4 separate regions of the Homo sapiens genome follow, and all the other regions are linked to region 1. The links are contacts of gene promoters, found by promoter capture Hi-C in blood cells and fetal thymus (Javierre and others, 2016). All regions are on one chromosome and are shown on one strand. Each heading gives the region's core, a stretch centred on a gene start or on the middle of the fragment in contact. The rest is flanking DNA. Distances are from core to core; before and after follow the strand shown. Region 1 holds the start of BEND3 (BEN domain containing 3). Region 2 overlaps OSTM1 (osteoclastogenesis associated transmembrane protein 1). Region 3 has its middle 17 kb from the start of ATG5. Region 4 overlaps CRYBG1 (crystallin beta-gamma domain containing 1).

Evidence for each region. The method cuts DNA at HindIII sites, captures the fragments that hold promoters and counts their contacts. A CHiCAGO score of 5 or more calls a contact.
Region 2: a contact is called between a fragment that was not itself captured here and the fragment with the promoter of BEND3 in region 1, in 1 of 17 cell types (naive CD8 T cells). The highest score is 7.5, in naive CD8 T cells.
Region 3: a fragment that was not itself captured here is called in contact with the fragment with the promoter of BEND3 in region 1 in 1 of 17 cell types (total B cells); the score reaches 6.1 in total B cells.
Region 4: a contact is called between a fragment that was not itself captured here and the fragment with the promoter of BEND3 in region 1, in 1 of 17 cell types (M0 macrophages). The highest score is 5.2, in M0 macrophages.

The regions. Positions count from the first base shown.
Region 1 is chr6:107,113,825-107,117,438 of GRCh38, forward strand. BEND3 (BEN domain containing 3) reads right to left here and starts at 1,691. Exons shown (of 4, transcript NM_001367314.1): 1 at 1,266-1,691. RefSeq lists silencers at 405-1,314, 1,445-1,494, 1,535-1,584 and enhancers at 2,177-2,940, 2,941-3,614. The HindIII fragment of the contact is 6,658 bases long and covers 1-3,614 here.
Region 2 is chr6:108,051,800-108,055,413 of GRCh38, forward strand. OSTM1 (osteoclastogenesis associated transmembrane protein 1) reads right to left here. Exons shown (of 6, transcript NM_014028.4): 3 at 2,691-2,788. Among named protein-coding and RNA genes, the nearest start is that of OSTM1, 21 kb to the right of the region's middle. The HindIII fragment of the contact is 1,714 bases long and covers 1,214-2,927 here.
Region 3 is chr6:106,340,624-106,344,237 of GRCh38, forward strand. No RefSeq gene overlaps it. Among named protein-coding and RNA genes, the nearest start is that of ATG5, 17 kb to the left of the region's middle. The HindIII fragment of the contact is 2,511 bases long and covers 685-3,195 here.
Region 4 is chr6:106,381,938-106,385,551 of GRCh38, forward strand. All of the region lies in intron 1 of CRYBG1 (crystallin beta-gamma domain containing 1), which reads left to right. Among named protein-coding and RNA genes, the nearest start is that of CRYBG1, 23 kb to the left of the region's middle. The HindIII fragment of the contact is 556 bases long and covers 1,471-2,026 here.

The sequences.
Region 1 (3,614 bases), core at 441-2,940:
GTCCTCCATCCCAGCCGTTTATATACCTGGCTACCTGAAGGACTCAGTTCCTTACCTCAGTTTCCTGCAACCGTAGCTTTCTGGCACTATGCCACGCTGCCCTGTGGCATGTTTACTATTTGTATTCAACCATTCAAAAGTTACTTTAAGGAGATGAACTGCACATTTCCAACTCTAGTGAGTAACCTTGTTCCTCCCGGCACTCTTGTCGAGTTAGCGTTTACGTGCAGAATTCTTCCAGAAAGACCACCTGAGCAATCAATAAAACTTTTATCTCTGTAAAAACACCTTGTTTAAAATAGCTACATAGGGAGACGTAGGTAAACAAGCACACAAGGGCCTCCAAATCGGTGGTGCACAGCTCACGGATGAGGCAAGGGCAAAGCATGCGTGGGAAATCACGTTTATCATAGAGAAGGAAAGGAGCGCTCACGAGGAGCGGCGAGCGCCCCAGGCTTCAGCTTTGCGGCCGGCCGGCCAGGCCTCGCGCCAGCCCGGGTGCACACCCAAGGCGCCGGGCCCGCCTCCAGCTCCTGGGCAGCGGGAACCGCGAACCGCCGTGGAACGGCCGGGAAGGGAGCGCTGCGCCCCCTGGCGGCGGGGCCCATCCCTCTCCGCTCCCGGCCGCCGCCGCCGCGGGCCGGCCTCGCTCCATTTGCAGCCTCCGGAGGCTTCGTTCCTCCGAGCGGCTGCTCCCCCGGCCTCCCGCTCGCCGCCCGGCATCTCCCTCCAGTCCCCGCCCCCTGCTCCCGCTCCGACACCCCCTTCCACACGCCGAGCAGTGCCCCGCCAAAGCCCCGCCGAGCGCGAGCGCCAAGCCGCCGCGAGTACGGCAGAGCCTTCCGGCCGCCCCGGCCGCTCCATCGCGGCGCCCGGCGGGGGTGCGGGGCCGGCGCGCGGCGCGAGTGGGGCGGGCGGCGGCGGCGGCGCGGACGGTTCCACCGCGCGAACCCCCCGCCCCCGCGCGGCGCGCGTGCTCCCCAGAACGCCATGGAGCCGCCGCGTTCCGAGCGGGCACAAAGGGGCGCGCAGCACAATGGGCGCGGCGAGCCCGTGGGCGCCCGGCGCCCGCTCCGGTCGCTCGGCCCGCGCGGGGGTGGGCGCTACTACCGGCGGGCGCGCTCGGAGCAGCCCCCCTCCGCGTCCCCTCCCCTGCTCCCGCCCCCACCCCGGCATGGATGTTGCAGCCACTCTACCGGCCGCTCGCCCCGGAGCCGCCAACGCTGCCGCCGCCGCGCGGCCGGCTTGATCCGCCCCGCACTTACCTGGGACGCGAGTTCTGTACTTTGCCGGGCGGGCCCGCGCCGAGTTTGGGCGCCACGTGGGGGGGAGGGCGCGGGGCCGGGGAGTGGGGGCCGCGCGCGGAGGGCCTGGCCAGGGCGGCCCGGGGAGGCGCTGGGGGCGGCGGGCGGGCGAGCGCCGTGTATTTTCCCCTCTCTTTGTGTGTGTCCGTGCGCTGCGCTCTCGCGTGACGTGACGGGACTCCGTGTGTCATTTCCGCACAAGGACACAGGAGCCCCCGCTGCAGTGGAACCACAACCCCTCCGCCCCCACCCCCGGCCCGCCCCTCCCCCTCAGCGGGGCACACGCGGGACCGGCGGCGGCGGCGCTCGGGCGTGAACGGCCGCGGCGGGGAGCTCGGGCGCGCACTCCCGGGACCCAGGCGGCCCGGCGCGCTCGGCCAGCGCAGTGGCTCCACGTGGGCCCGCGCTGGCTGCCCGGGGCGGGGGCGGCGGCCGCGCACCCACGGCGCGCCGGGCAGGCGCCGCGAACAATGTCCCCTGTACCCCATGTGTCCTCCCACCGCGAGTTCGTCCTCGGAAACGTGGTTTCTCAGACCCGAGAGTTTGGCCCCAAACGGCTTTTTCTACTTTTTTGCCCCTTGCGGGACGGCGACTGTGCGGAGCTTGTCCCGCCTCGCGCCCACGCCTCTCCCGCATTTTTGGCCTTTGGGCCGCAGCCCAGGCCCCCGGGGCCGGTCTTCCCGCGCCGCCACCGGCACAAAGACCTTGGGGCGCGAGGGCCCGGGTGGCTCCTGCGGCCCCGCGGGGCGGCATGGAGTCCGGCGGGACCCGGGAGAGCGACCCTGGCGCTGGGAAAAGCTGGCTCTGGCCACTCCCCCTGCACGGTGGCCGCCCTCTGTTGTGAGCCTCAGAGCTAAAATCTGCTCTTGCAACCCGAAGTTCTGGGGTGTGAGGCTGCGGAGCGAGAGCTTCGGAAGCGCCCGCGCTCACAGACACACACCCCACAAACACAAACCCACGGGCTGTCTGCGCCGAGCGCCTAAAATAGAAAAACACGAGTCACCAACTCAATAAAGGCTGATTCTGTCTACTCCTAACTCTTGGACTGTAGATTCCCAGTTGATAAATACGAAATCTACCCCTCGGGTATTTTCTCAAGTCTCAGTGGCTGGGTAGGGGGAGGGGGAGGTGCTGGGTGAGAGTCAGGGAAGCCCAATTCAACAGTTTAGCCACGTTTGTATTTTAGGCAAACAATGAGAATGTAAATTTAAGAAAAATCCTTTAATTTGCCGATCAAAGAAAGTATAAAAAGAAAAATGCAAATGATCCCATCTGCTGCTCACAGCTGACTGGCTGCAAGGGAGGACCATGTGGCACGGCCCTGCGCGGTCAGTGAATAGGTAGAATAGATTTTTAAAAGAAGGCATATGTTGGCTCCTTGCTGCCCAGTCGCGGCGAGGGTTTGAATTAACGTATAGTTTGGGTTTACCGTACCCTCCTTCAGACCACTCCAATTGGGAATTTAGTAATTATGCAAGTTCCCCCCCTTCGGGCTTGAAATCAAAAGGCACAGGGTTAAGTTTGAGGAACTACGTGGAACATTCTCGAGCTGTATTTGGATTACTGGTTTAGTGAAGTCAGTACTAATTGCTATGCAAAATTAAGCAAGCAGCCTGAAGAACCAAGCCCTGCATCCAGGGGGTGCTTTTATAGAAGAATCTATACGTGCTCAGTGTCATTGAAAACAGGATGATGAAAAGAATGGGGCCGAGATAGCAGCCCTTCAAATTCAAAAGACTTAGGTCGCCCTATCTACATTTAAAATAGGGCGGAGGGAGGAAGGGAGGAGGACTGCTTGGGGGAGAATGGTTAATTTATACATTCGCAGAAGACTGAGGGGAGGCACTTCGATTTCTGCAGAGAACTTGACTTTTACACTTGCACATTAAATAACACGTACGACACAGTACATCGCTTGACTTAGTTAACAGATACACCAGTTTTATTCTCACCTTCAATTTAATGTGACAGTTATAATTAGAATTTTTAAAGTAGAAGTTGCATTTCATTAGTTCAGTTTTCTAGGATTTCCCAGTAGAAGAGTTAGGAATAGTTAAGTAGCACTTAAGCACATTTTGCATTTAAATCACTTTGCTGTGGTGCTTTAAGAATGTAAAACGACCTTGTTAAATTTTTGGAAAGAGGACTAGATGAAACGTGTGTAGTGAGGGGATATATATTTAACCAATCTTTCACAGTGACAACTCAGGTTTTTAAGGAGAAATTAAATAATAAGACAATAGAGATAGAAATTAACATTTCTCTGTTCATATTGCTTGAAACAAAAGATTTCTGTCAAATACAATAATT
Region 2 (3,614 bases), core at 821-3,320, 940 kb after region 1:
AAATGAGGATAGTGGAGGTACATAAAATATTATGCTACTAAATCTCAATATTTTGTACTTCTAGACTGACACTTGTCTTTTCAAGAATAAGTTTGCTAAACAGTCAGTTCACACCTTTGCTTTCTATGCCCTTTATTCTTTACTTTGTAGTATGAAGAAAGAATATTAACTGAACATTGGGATGAAAGAGAAAAGAGAAAAATCAAAGTAATTACACTGATGTTGGCCCAACAATGTTACCCTCACCATCTGCTTGACAGAAAAACTAAGTCTCTCCTTAGTCTGCTACAAGAAATAGCCCATTGCTTGTTTTTCACAGAACAATTGTGCACTTAGTTAAAAATTGAGCACAGGGCTGGGCGCGATGGTTCACACCTGTAAACCCAGCACTTTGGGAGGCCGAGGTGGGCGGATCACAAGGTCAGGAGATCGAGACCATCCTGGCTAACACGGTGAAACCCCATCTCTACTAAAAATACAAAACTTAGCCGGGCGTGGTGGCGGGCACCTGTAGTCCCAGCTACTTGGGAGGCTGAGGCAGGAGAATGGCGTGAACCCGGGAGGCGGAGCTTGCAGTGAGCCGAGATCGCGCCACTGCACTCTAGCCCGGGTGACAGAGCGAGACTCCGTCTCAAAAAAAAAAAAAAAAATTGAGCACATAATCCATTTAACTAAAATTGTGCACATAATCTAGATGGGGAGTAATTTAACCTTTTTTTTTTTTTTTTTTTTTGAGACACGGTCTTGCTATTTTGCCCAGGCTAATTTCTAACTCCTGGGCTCAAATGATCCTCCCACCTCAACCTTCCAAAGTGCTGGGATTACAGGCAGGTGCCACCATACCTGGCCACAATTTTTATTCAAATTTAAAATGCACATATCTTTTAATAATGTGAAAGTTGCAGACATTAGGATGAAATCACCTTTTGACAGACCAAGACAAAATAGAGACAAAAAGAGTCCTTGTTTCCAAAGACTTTCTAAAAACCCCACAAGAAATCCTTTCACGCCCTTCATTGCAACTCCTGCTTTCACATGGTTTATCACTGCCATTCTTTAGGACTGCAGTAATTCAGATAAGATGCACTCAAAAGAACACTTGCCCAGTAATGGCATCGCCACCAATGAACTGACAACTTGGCTTTGAGCCTCAGGAACCAATGAACTCAGTTTCCAAGCAGCTTGTGTGAACCTCTCCCTTTTTGCTAATAAAAGCTTCCCTTTACCCTTCCCTCACTGGATGTACTGGTGGTTTGCCAGTGCATTCCAAATTACCATACTTCTTTCTTATTCCCTAATAAACTCATCATATTTGGAGATAATTTTCTCTAGTGTCTTTTTCTTAGGCTGCCAATATAGTAATTCTACTTCTAGAAATCTACCAAACTCATACAAGTACTCTAAGTTAAATGAAAAGAAGACTGTTTATGGTGTACAATTTAAAACTTATTATTTCCAGAATTTTCCATTTAATATTTTTGGACTGCAGTTGGCCACAGGTAACTGAAACTGTGGAAAGTGAAGCCATATATAAAAGGGATGACTTTATAGAAAAATTGCTATTTGAGTGTTACAACACACATCAGTCCACTAAAGGCTCTGAAGTCCTGTAGTAAAGCATTTCCCAACCTTAATGGAATACTAAACCCTTTCTGATAGGACATCTATTAACATGCTGCAGAACAAATTCTGAGAAATGTTCACCTAATTTTTTTTATTTTATTTTTTTGAGACAGAGTCTCTCTGCAACGCCCAGGCTGGAGTGCAATGGCACGATCTCAACTCACTGCAACCTCTACTTCACTACAGGCGTGCACCACCAAGCCTGGCTAAGTTTTGTATTTTTAGTAGAGACAGGGTTTCACCATATTGGCCAGGTTGATCTCGAACTCCTGACCTCAAGTGACCTGCCTGCCTTGGCCTCCCAAGGTGCTGGGATTATAGGCATGAGATACTGCACCTGGCCCAATTTTTATTATTCTCAAGGAAATTCATAATTCAGTGTTACCACATTTATTACAGAAGAAATCATACATGCTTATACCCTAAGCATGTGTACATCTACTATGGGGATTACTTACTTGTTATGTAAGTTTCAAAACTACATTTTAACCAGAGTTCCAACCTCGTCCTTCACCACGACCGGGCAAGTTCCAATACCAAAATTCAAGAGTCAGAGATAGAGATGGCAATAATCTACAAGGTTAAGATTCTTAAAGCTACCTTTTATTATCATAATTCAATACTCAAAGTTATCTTACTAAACAGTGCTTTTTAAGGTAGGTAAAACATACTTAAGCAAATTTCAGGCAAAGAATAAACTTCCTATAGACAGAATCATACTACACTGCAAAATACCTACGTAAGTCAGATTGAAAACCATTGTGTTTTAATTAAACAATCACACACCTCAATCAATGTTTTCACAATCATTATCTCACCAGATTCTCATTACAAAATACTTTAAGATAGGCAGGATAGATATTATCTCCATTTTACAATGAGAGAACTGAGGTTTTCATGATTTGTAAGTAGAAGAACTTACTTAAGAGCAGAAATCCAGGTCCACTAACTCCTTTACATCATGAATTTAGATAAATATCAATAATTAGTGCTCTAAAAACTTGGAACTGCACATTATTCCTTTGTACAAGGCAGCATTTTAATTTTAAATATTATATATAAAATACCTGAAGGTTATGTTCAAAGCAGGTCAGGGTGTGATTAAATAGATTAAGGAAATATACTGTGCTGTTTGATAATTCTTCACTGTTGTTTGTTAAACAATCTGTCAAAAAAATTCAAAAAGTATATTAATATAACTCAAGGAACAATTCTATGTTGTCATTTATATCTTAAGCTATCAGCTTCGTTTCACACTACAGTAATTCTTTATTCAAACAAGCATGAATTTTCCAAATATATGAAGCTTACTCCTTTTATTTTCCAAAAGTTAAAAAAGTCATAACCATTTTCATGAACATGTTAAAATAATCACATACTCTCTTTTCATAAAAATATACCAAATAAAATTCAAATGGACTTTTGATGGCACAAGGTCATAATCACGGAATATCAGCTATCAAATGCTGCCTTAACAGTGCTATTTAGGCATAAGACTGTTTACCCTGCATTAATTTTACCGAAACTCATATGCCTTATCATTTTTTGTGTCAAATTTCATAGTTCTCTGCATCTTCCAACTTCACTAATGAGTCATTTATTGTACCTAATGGGGTAACTTTTAAAATTCGCTCTTTCTAATCCATCACGAGTTGGGAGCCCAGAGAAACAAACTGGTGAGAATTTTGCCTAAAATACTGACGTGGGGGCTTCAAGTAAAGTCTAGAAACAAAATTGTTTTACATTTTTAAAAATCCTACATAAATGGTATTTCTCTGCAACTGGCTATTCTTGCTTAGAGTTAGCTCAAGTTCACTCATCCCTTTTATTTTCTATGTATGTGTATATCACAATTTATGTATCCATTTTCCCTTCTTCAGGGAATAATCTATTCTTCTTTTTTTTTTTAAGAAACGGGGTCTTGCTCGGTTGCCCAGGCTGGAGTGCAGTGGCACAATTTGCCAGCTCATTGCAGACTTGAACTCCTGGGC
Region 3 (3,614 bases), core at 690-3,189, 770 kb before region 1:
ATGCATGATACTAGAATGGTAGATACATGTCATTAGAAATTTATCCAAACCCCTAGACTGTACGACACCAAGAATGAACCCTGTAGTAAGCTATGGACACTGCATGATAGATGTGTAAATGCAGGTTCATCGATTGTAACCTACAGGCCTTATTTATGTAGTTAGGACTGTCCCAGATAGCTGTGACTACAGGCCCAAACCAGCACACCCAGCTAACATAAAGTGTGTTTTGACTGGCGATGTCTCTGGAGGCAATGGGAGCAATTGAAAAACTACCACAGTCAACTGGGAAATGATGACAAAGGCAAGGCAGTGGGATGAAGAAGAGGGTGGAAAGAAGAAATGTTCAAGAGGAATAATCAAGGACTTTAGTGACTGATTGGGTGAGTTTGTGAGGGCGGCTGAGGTGTTAGTGTTCAGGCTGTTAACCAAGACCAATGCCAAAACGAGATTACCCACTAGCAACACCAAACGCCTGCAAGGATGTGAGCAACAGGAAGTCTCATTCATTGCTGGTGGGAATGCAAAATGGTACAGCCACTTTGGAACACAATTTGGTGGCTTCTTACAAAACTAAACACAATCTTCCCATCTGATCCTGCAATTGGGCTCCTTGGTATTTACACAAAGGAGTTGAAAACTTGTGTTCATACAAAAACTTCTATCCATATGGATGTTTGTAGAAGCTTTATTCACAAATACCAAAACTTGGAGGCAACCAAGATATCCTTCAGTGGGTGAACGGATAAACTATGGTACATACAGACAAATAGAATATTATTCATCACTAAAAAGAAATGTGCCATCAAGTCATGAAAAGACATTTAATGAAACTTAAATGTATGTTGCTAAGTGAAAAAAGCCAGCCCAAAAAGGCTACATACTGTATGGTCCCAACTACACAACATTCTGGAAATGGTAAAACTATAAAGACACTTAAAAGACAAGTGATTGCCCTGTGTGGTGGCTCACGCCTGTAATCCCAGTACTTTGGGAGGCTGAAGCTGTTGGATCTCCTGAGGTTGGGAGTTCAAGACCAGGCTGGCCAATGTGGCAAAACTCTGTCTCTACTAAAAATACTAAAATTATCTGGGTGTGGTGGTGGGCACCTGTAATCCCAGCTACATAGGAGGCTGAGGCCAGAGAATCACTTGAATCTGGGTGGCAGAGGTTGCAGTAAGCTGAGATCACATGGCTGCACTCCAGCCTGGGCAACACAGTGAGACTCCATCTCAAAAAAAAAAAAAAATCAGGGGTTGAAGGGAGGGAGGGATGAACAGGCAAAGCACCAGTGACTCTTAGGGCAGTGAAACTACTCTGCATGACACTAGAATGGTGGATATATGTCATTATAAGTTATCCAAACCCCTAGACTGTACAACATCAAGAGTGAACCCTATGGTAAGCTATGGGCACTGTGTGATAATGATGTGTAAATGTAGGTTCATCAGTTGTAAACTACAGGCCTTATTTATGTAGTGAGGACTGTCTAAAATTAGCCCATGAATCACTGTCTCTAAGCATTGTTGTTTGCTGAAGTATTAATATTAATGATACAAAGAAATTATAAAACTGATAAGAAGAAAATTTTTAGCATGTGTTCCCTAGAGCTCAAAGTTGGTTAATGTCACTCTGGTGGGCAATGTTGTTAGTGGGGGGCTATACCTGTGTGGGGGCAGAGGATATATGGGAAGTCTCTGTACCTTCTATTCAAATTTCTTATGACCCTAAGAATGCTCTAGAAAAACTAAGTCTAAAAAAAAAAAAAAAAGAAAAAAGAAAAACTAAGTCTATTAAAAAGGTGGGGGATTACCTGCAAAGTATCCTTATGGAATTTTATGGTAACATCTAAAGAGATCTAGAGTTTGAGGGAGCAGTCTAGACTGGAGGCATTTTCTTAAGAAGACATTTATCACTCATGTTAGTCTGGGTCCTCCCAGAAGCAGACTCCAGGACAGGATTAAATTTACAAATATTTCTCTAGGAGAAGTCTCTGTGATAGAAAATGTAGGGGGGTCAGGCATGGTGGCTCACGCCTGTAATCCTAGCACTTTGAGAGGCTGAGGCAGAAGGATCGCTTGAGCCCAGGAGTTTGAGACTGGCCCAGGGAACATGGGGACATCCCTGAAAAAAAAAAAAAAAAAAGAAGGCCAGGCTCTGTGGCTCAAGCCTGTAATCCCAGCACTTTGGGAGGTGGAGGCGGGCGGATCAACTGACGTCAGGAGTTCAAGACCAGCCTGACCAGTATGGTGAAAACCTGCCTCTACTAAAAATACAAAAATTAGCCGGGCATGGCGGCACATGCTGTAATCCCAGCTACTCAGGAGGCTGAGGCAGGAGAATCACTTGAACTCCGGGGGGCTGAGGTTGCAATGACCCAAGATCACACCATTGCACTCCAGCTTGGGCAACAGAGCAAGACTTGGTCTCAAAAAAAAAAAAGAAAAAGAAAAAGAAAAGGAAAATGTAGGGAGAGAGGAGGGGCTGGGAAAGCCAGCTGTCAGTGGAGCAAAGGAGCAGGTGGATAGAAGCCAGTTTAGCCTAAGGTAGGTGCAACAAGAAATTTTTAGATGTCTCAAGCCAAAGTCATCAGTCAGAGGAGTCCCATGGAATAGGACTGCCCTCTAATCTCCAGCATGCTCAGTCCCTGGGCCCTCAATCAATCACTCTCACTCAGTAAAGATCTGTGAAGTGTATTCTCCTGACCACCACCACACTTTAACAAATACGTCTTATTTTAATATATACACATCAGTGTAAACAAAAGTTCAACACAATAAACTGTTCTTTGCCATCATGAAGTTCTGAGGGGCAGTGCATAGCTTTGCGTCTCTTGGCCACGGTTTCAGACCTTTCCTCTTCCCCTCTAGATGTCTCTGTAGTTCCTGATACTCAAATACCAGCTATTTAGGGATTAACAGATAAACCTATTCTTCATGCATTGCTGCTACATTGCTTTTTTGCCTACATGTCTTAATCTGATACTTCATTTAAAAAGCAGGATGTTTTGACCAGGCGTGGCAGCTCATGCCTGTAATCCCAGTACTTTGGGAGGCCAAGGGAGGTGGAACACCTGAGGTCAGGAGTTCAAGACCACTCTGACCAACATGGCAAAACCCTGTCCCCACTAAAAATACAAAAATTTAGCCAGGTGTGGTGGCATGCGCCTGTAGCCACATTTATTTAACCTTCCTAAGCTTTATTCTTCTCACCTATGAAATGGGGTAACAATAGTTGCAACCCTATAGTATTGTTATAGTAATAAATTATACATATGTTATATATACATAACAAATAAACATCTGTTTATATATGTGCTGTATGTTATATGCATATTTATATTTATATATATATACAATATTACACAGTGCCTGGTGTATGGTAAGCACTCAAAAAATTAACCATAATAATAACTATTGGCTGGGTGTGGTGGCTCATGCCTGTAATCCCAACAGTTTGGGAGGCCAAGCATGGAGGATTGCTTGAGCCCAGGACTTCAAGACCAGCCTGGGCAGCACAGGAAGACTATGTCTCTATTAAAAAAAAATAATAATAAATATTAATAACATCATTGTTTTTACCTCCCTGCTATTAGACTTACTCCCCTTTTTCAT
Region 4 (3,614 bases), core at 499-2,998, 730 kb before region 1:
ACTGCTAGACTATGGTGCACCAAGGGAAGATAGATATGCACTCACTTCTAGAAGGAAACACCTCTAAGAGACACTGAAGCAGTACACCAGGAAGCAATGAACAGTCCTCCTCAGCTGTGTCAGTTTCCTGTCTACCTCTAAACAAAGGCATGCAACAGCCAGGGAGGGGCAGGCTTCTGAGCTCTTAATAGCCTTAGATTTGGGAGGCCAGCCATGGGCATTGCAAAAAACATGTTGACAGTACACGTGTGGTCAGTAGTCAAAATTGCAGGGCCTAATTGCTGGCTACATCTAGGACATAGCACTTTAAGGGGAGTAGTATCCATGAGGACTTTGTTGATGCAAAGGGCAAAACTACACGGGGAATCTGATTTATTTTGTGGAAATTCTTCTTTTGATAGAGAAAGAAATTCTCTGGTATGTTGTAAAAGAATATTAGGAGATACAGAAATTTTTATTAGGTTTTATGGGAAATCAAACCAGTTATTAGCATCATTCCTGAAAGATTTTGAAACATCTGGACTTTGAAATTTTTGTTCCTTCAGTGTCACCAGTTTTGTGAAAACTCCCTATTGCTTTCTAGGTAAAGTTGGCTTCTAAAAATGAATTTTTTGGCCAAGCATGGTGGCTCATGCCTGTAATACCAGCACTTTGGAAGGCCAAGAATAAAATAAAAATAATAAAAATCAAATTTTCTACCAATTGCTCTTTATACAATGGAAAAGAATGTAATCTCTGTTAGAATTATAATTTTCTTTCATATTTTTGTAATAATTTTGATTTTATTTTTAATATTTATGCCAGAATCAAAAGCCAAGTGTTTGGAAATAGTTTCTGTGCTATTGGCATGCAAAAGCTAGCTTTGGATGATAATCCATACACTTGTGATTATTATAAAAAATTGTGATTAACTATAACATTACCTGATGAATCATTGTCCTTGAGTTAGACACATTGCAAAAGACAATTGTAATTAGAACATCATGACTTTATTATTATTAAGTAATCTGCTTACTACAAAATTATTGATATCTAAGTAGGGCTAATGGGAAATCCTGCAATTTTTTGTGTGTGTCTCTATATCCACAAAAGGCAAGTAAGTAATCAAGTGGGCAGAAAGACTCTTGAGGTAGCTTTTTCCAGAATGGAGGTAGTGAGTTCAACTTGAACTAGTCATGGAACCAGAATTTTAAAGATTTTTTTAAAAGTATATGAAGATATTACCTCATCTAGTATTTCTCAAAATGTGTTAAATATCCAAATCAAAATCACTCAGGTGTAAAAAGCAGATTTCTGTTCCTCTAGAAATTCAAATTTGACAGATCTGAGGTCTGCATCTTAACCTCCATAAGTAGTCGTTAAAGTTTGAGAACCAAGGATCTAGCCCAGTTGGGATTAGGAAACTGAAATCCCAAAAGGGACTTGCCAAGGGCACCAGGCTATTCAGTGGCAAAGCTGGGGCCAGAACCAAGCTTTCTCTAGTTTAATGTTCATAAATGCATGTCCCAAACTTATCCTTTGCTTAAGTGATGATAAGTAATCTTTTACTATAGAATCAAATACAGCAGATGTATTAAGTCTCAATCCTTTCATAAATGTAAATGTGTAAATGAAATTTACACAGACTAGAATAATAGAATAGTTTATAGTTTTGAAAGGCTGGACTTTAGTTCCTGAAAGACTGTGAAACAAAACAGACAAAAAGTGCTGGTATGAACAGATCGCTAACAAGGCTCCCATATGAATGTATCATATGATATGTCACACATGTTTTTCCTCTGATCAGTTCTTTATTTCCACATCTATTGCTCATATTTGGCAAGTTTGCAATAGATAACTTCCTCCTGCAGTTTTTCATATGCAATCTCCTAAGTGTTCCAATGTGAATACACTACTTAGAACCACATCGTTGATGACTATCTGGGCTGGTGAGTTTTTGAGATTAGTACATGGGGCTAGGGAAGTTATAATTGTGGTTCTCAACCCTGTGTGTGGCCAGTCAGCTTTGCACAGAGAGAAAAAAAGAAGCTTCCTTGTTCATAAACTGCATTTCTAACAAAGCAAGTCTTCCTGCAGATGTGTAGTGTTGGCCATGCAGGTACCAGGTGACAGCAGGTGTGAACTCAGCACAGCACATCACCTCTATTGAGGAGCAGCTTGCAGAGCACTTACTGCTGATGGTGTGAGGTCAGTGTCACCTTTGTTTAGGATGGAAAATAGCATGAGTTTAAACTGTGACCCAAAACAAGGCTACAGAGACTCCTCTTTGACCTACTGGCTTTCTGGGGACTTCCCATCGGTAACTGAGGCCCTGTTCTTTAGAGCAGTGGTCCCCAACCTTTTTGGCACCAGGGACCAGTTTCATGGAAGATGATTTTTCCATAGACCGGGGGAAGACGGGGACGGGGATGGTTTCAGGATGATTTAAGTGCATTACACTTATTGTGCACTTTGTCTCTCTTATTACTACATTGTAATATATAATGAAATAGTTATACAACTCACCATAATGTAGAATCAGTGGGAGCCCTAAGCATGTTTTCTTGCACCTAGATGGTCTCATCTGGGGGTGATGGGAGAGAGTGACACTCGAATTGCGTTGTTTATGTCCAGTCTACTCCGTAATCTCATTTTGCTTGCAGTCACTGAAGAAAACCCTGCTTCACAAAGATAGGATGTTGGAAATGGAAGCATGCTTCTCAGTGCTTTTGTGGCAATCTCAGAATATTCTGGCTTGATTCCATCCAGAATGTATGGAGATTTGAAGTTTTCTCATACTTTTAAGTATGTTAAGTATGTTTTAAAAGTAAAACATACTTTTAAGGCCACCCTAATTTGTGATCTCAAGCAGGTGATCCTCTTCTAACTCAGACAACATCAATTCACCTGGCTTATTCACAAATGGGTCACAGATACATTCTTCCCAGTTCAGGTGTCTTTTGTGTTTGGGGTGCAGTCTCTTTCAAAATCTCTGCTAATGTTTGAAACATGTCAGAAATCCCAATGTTCACTCATCACTCCCATAATTCCAGTTTGGCTTTGAATGCAGCCACTTTATCTGCCGACTTGAACATAGTTGTCATTCTCCCATGAAGTGACAGATTGAGTTCATTGAGCAGGTTGAATATGTCACACAAGTAAGCAAGTTTTGCCACTGATTCTGTGTCACTGAAATGTGCTGCCAGTGGTGACTATTTTTCTAAAAGAAATCCCTGAAACAGCTCTCATAACAAAAACTCTGGCCAGTGATCTACCTTTAGAAAACCATCTCACTTCTGTGTATAAGAGAAACGTGTGTGCTCTGCATCCATCTCCTCTCAGAGCTGCTCAAACAGACATGGGTTAAGGGCATGTACTTTAATGGTGGTTGATAATATTAATCACATCCTGCAAGACATTGTTAAGTTCAGGTGACAGTTTTTGGCTAGCCAGCATTTCTCTACTGGATAACACAGTGCATAGCCTCACATTCAGAAACAATCTCTTTGACCTGAGCAGTGAAGCCAGAAAGCCATCCAGTCATGGCAGCTACTCTGTCCATGCATATACTGACACAAAATGACCAATTCAGTTTTCCTGATACATAATCATTCAAAGACTTGAATAGTTCTGCA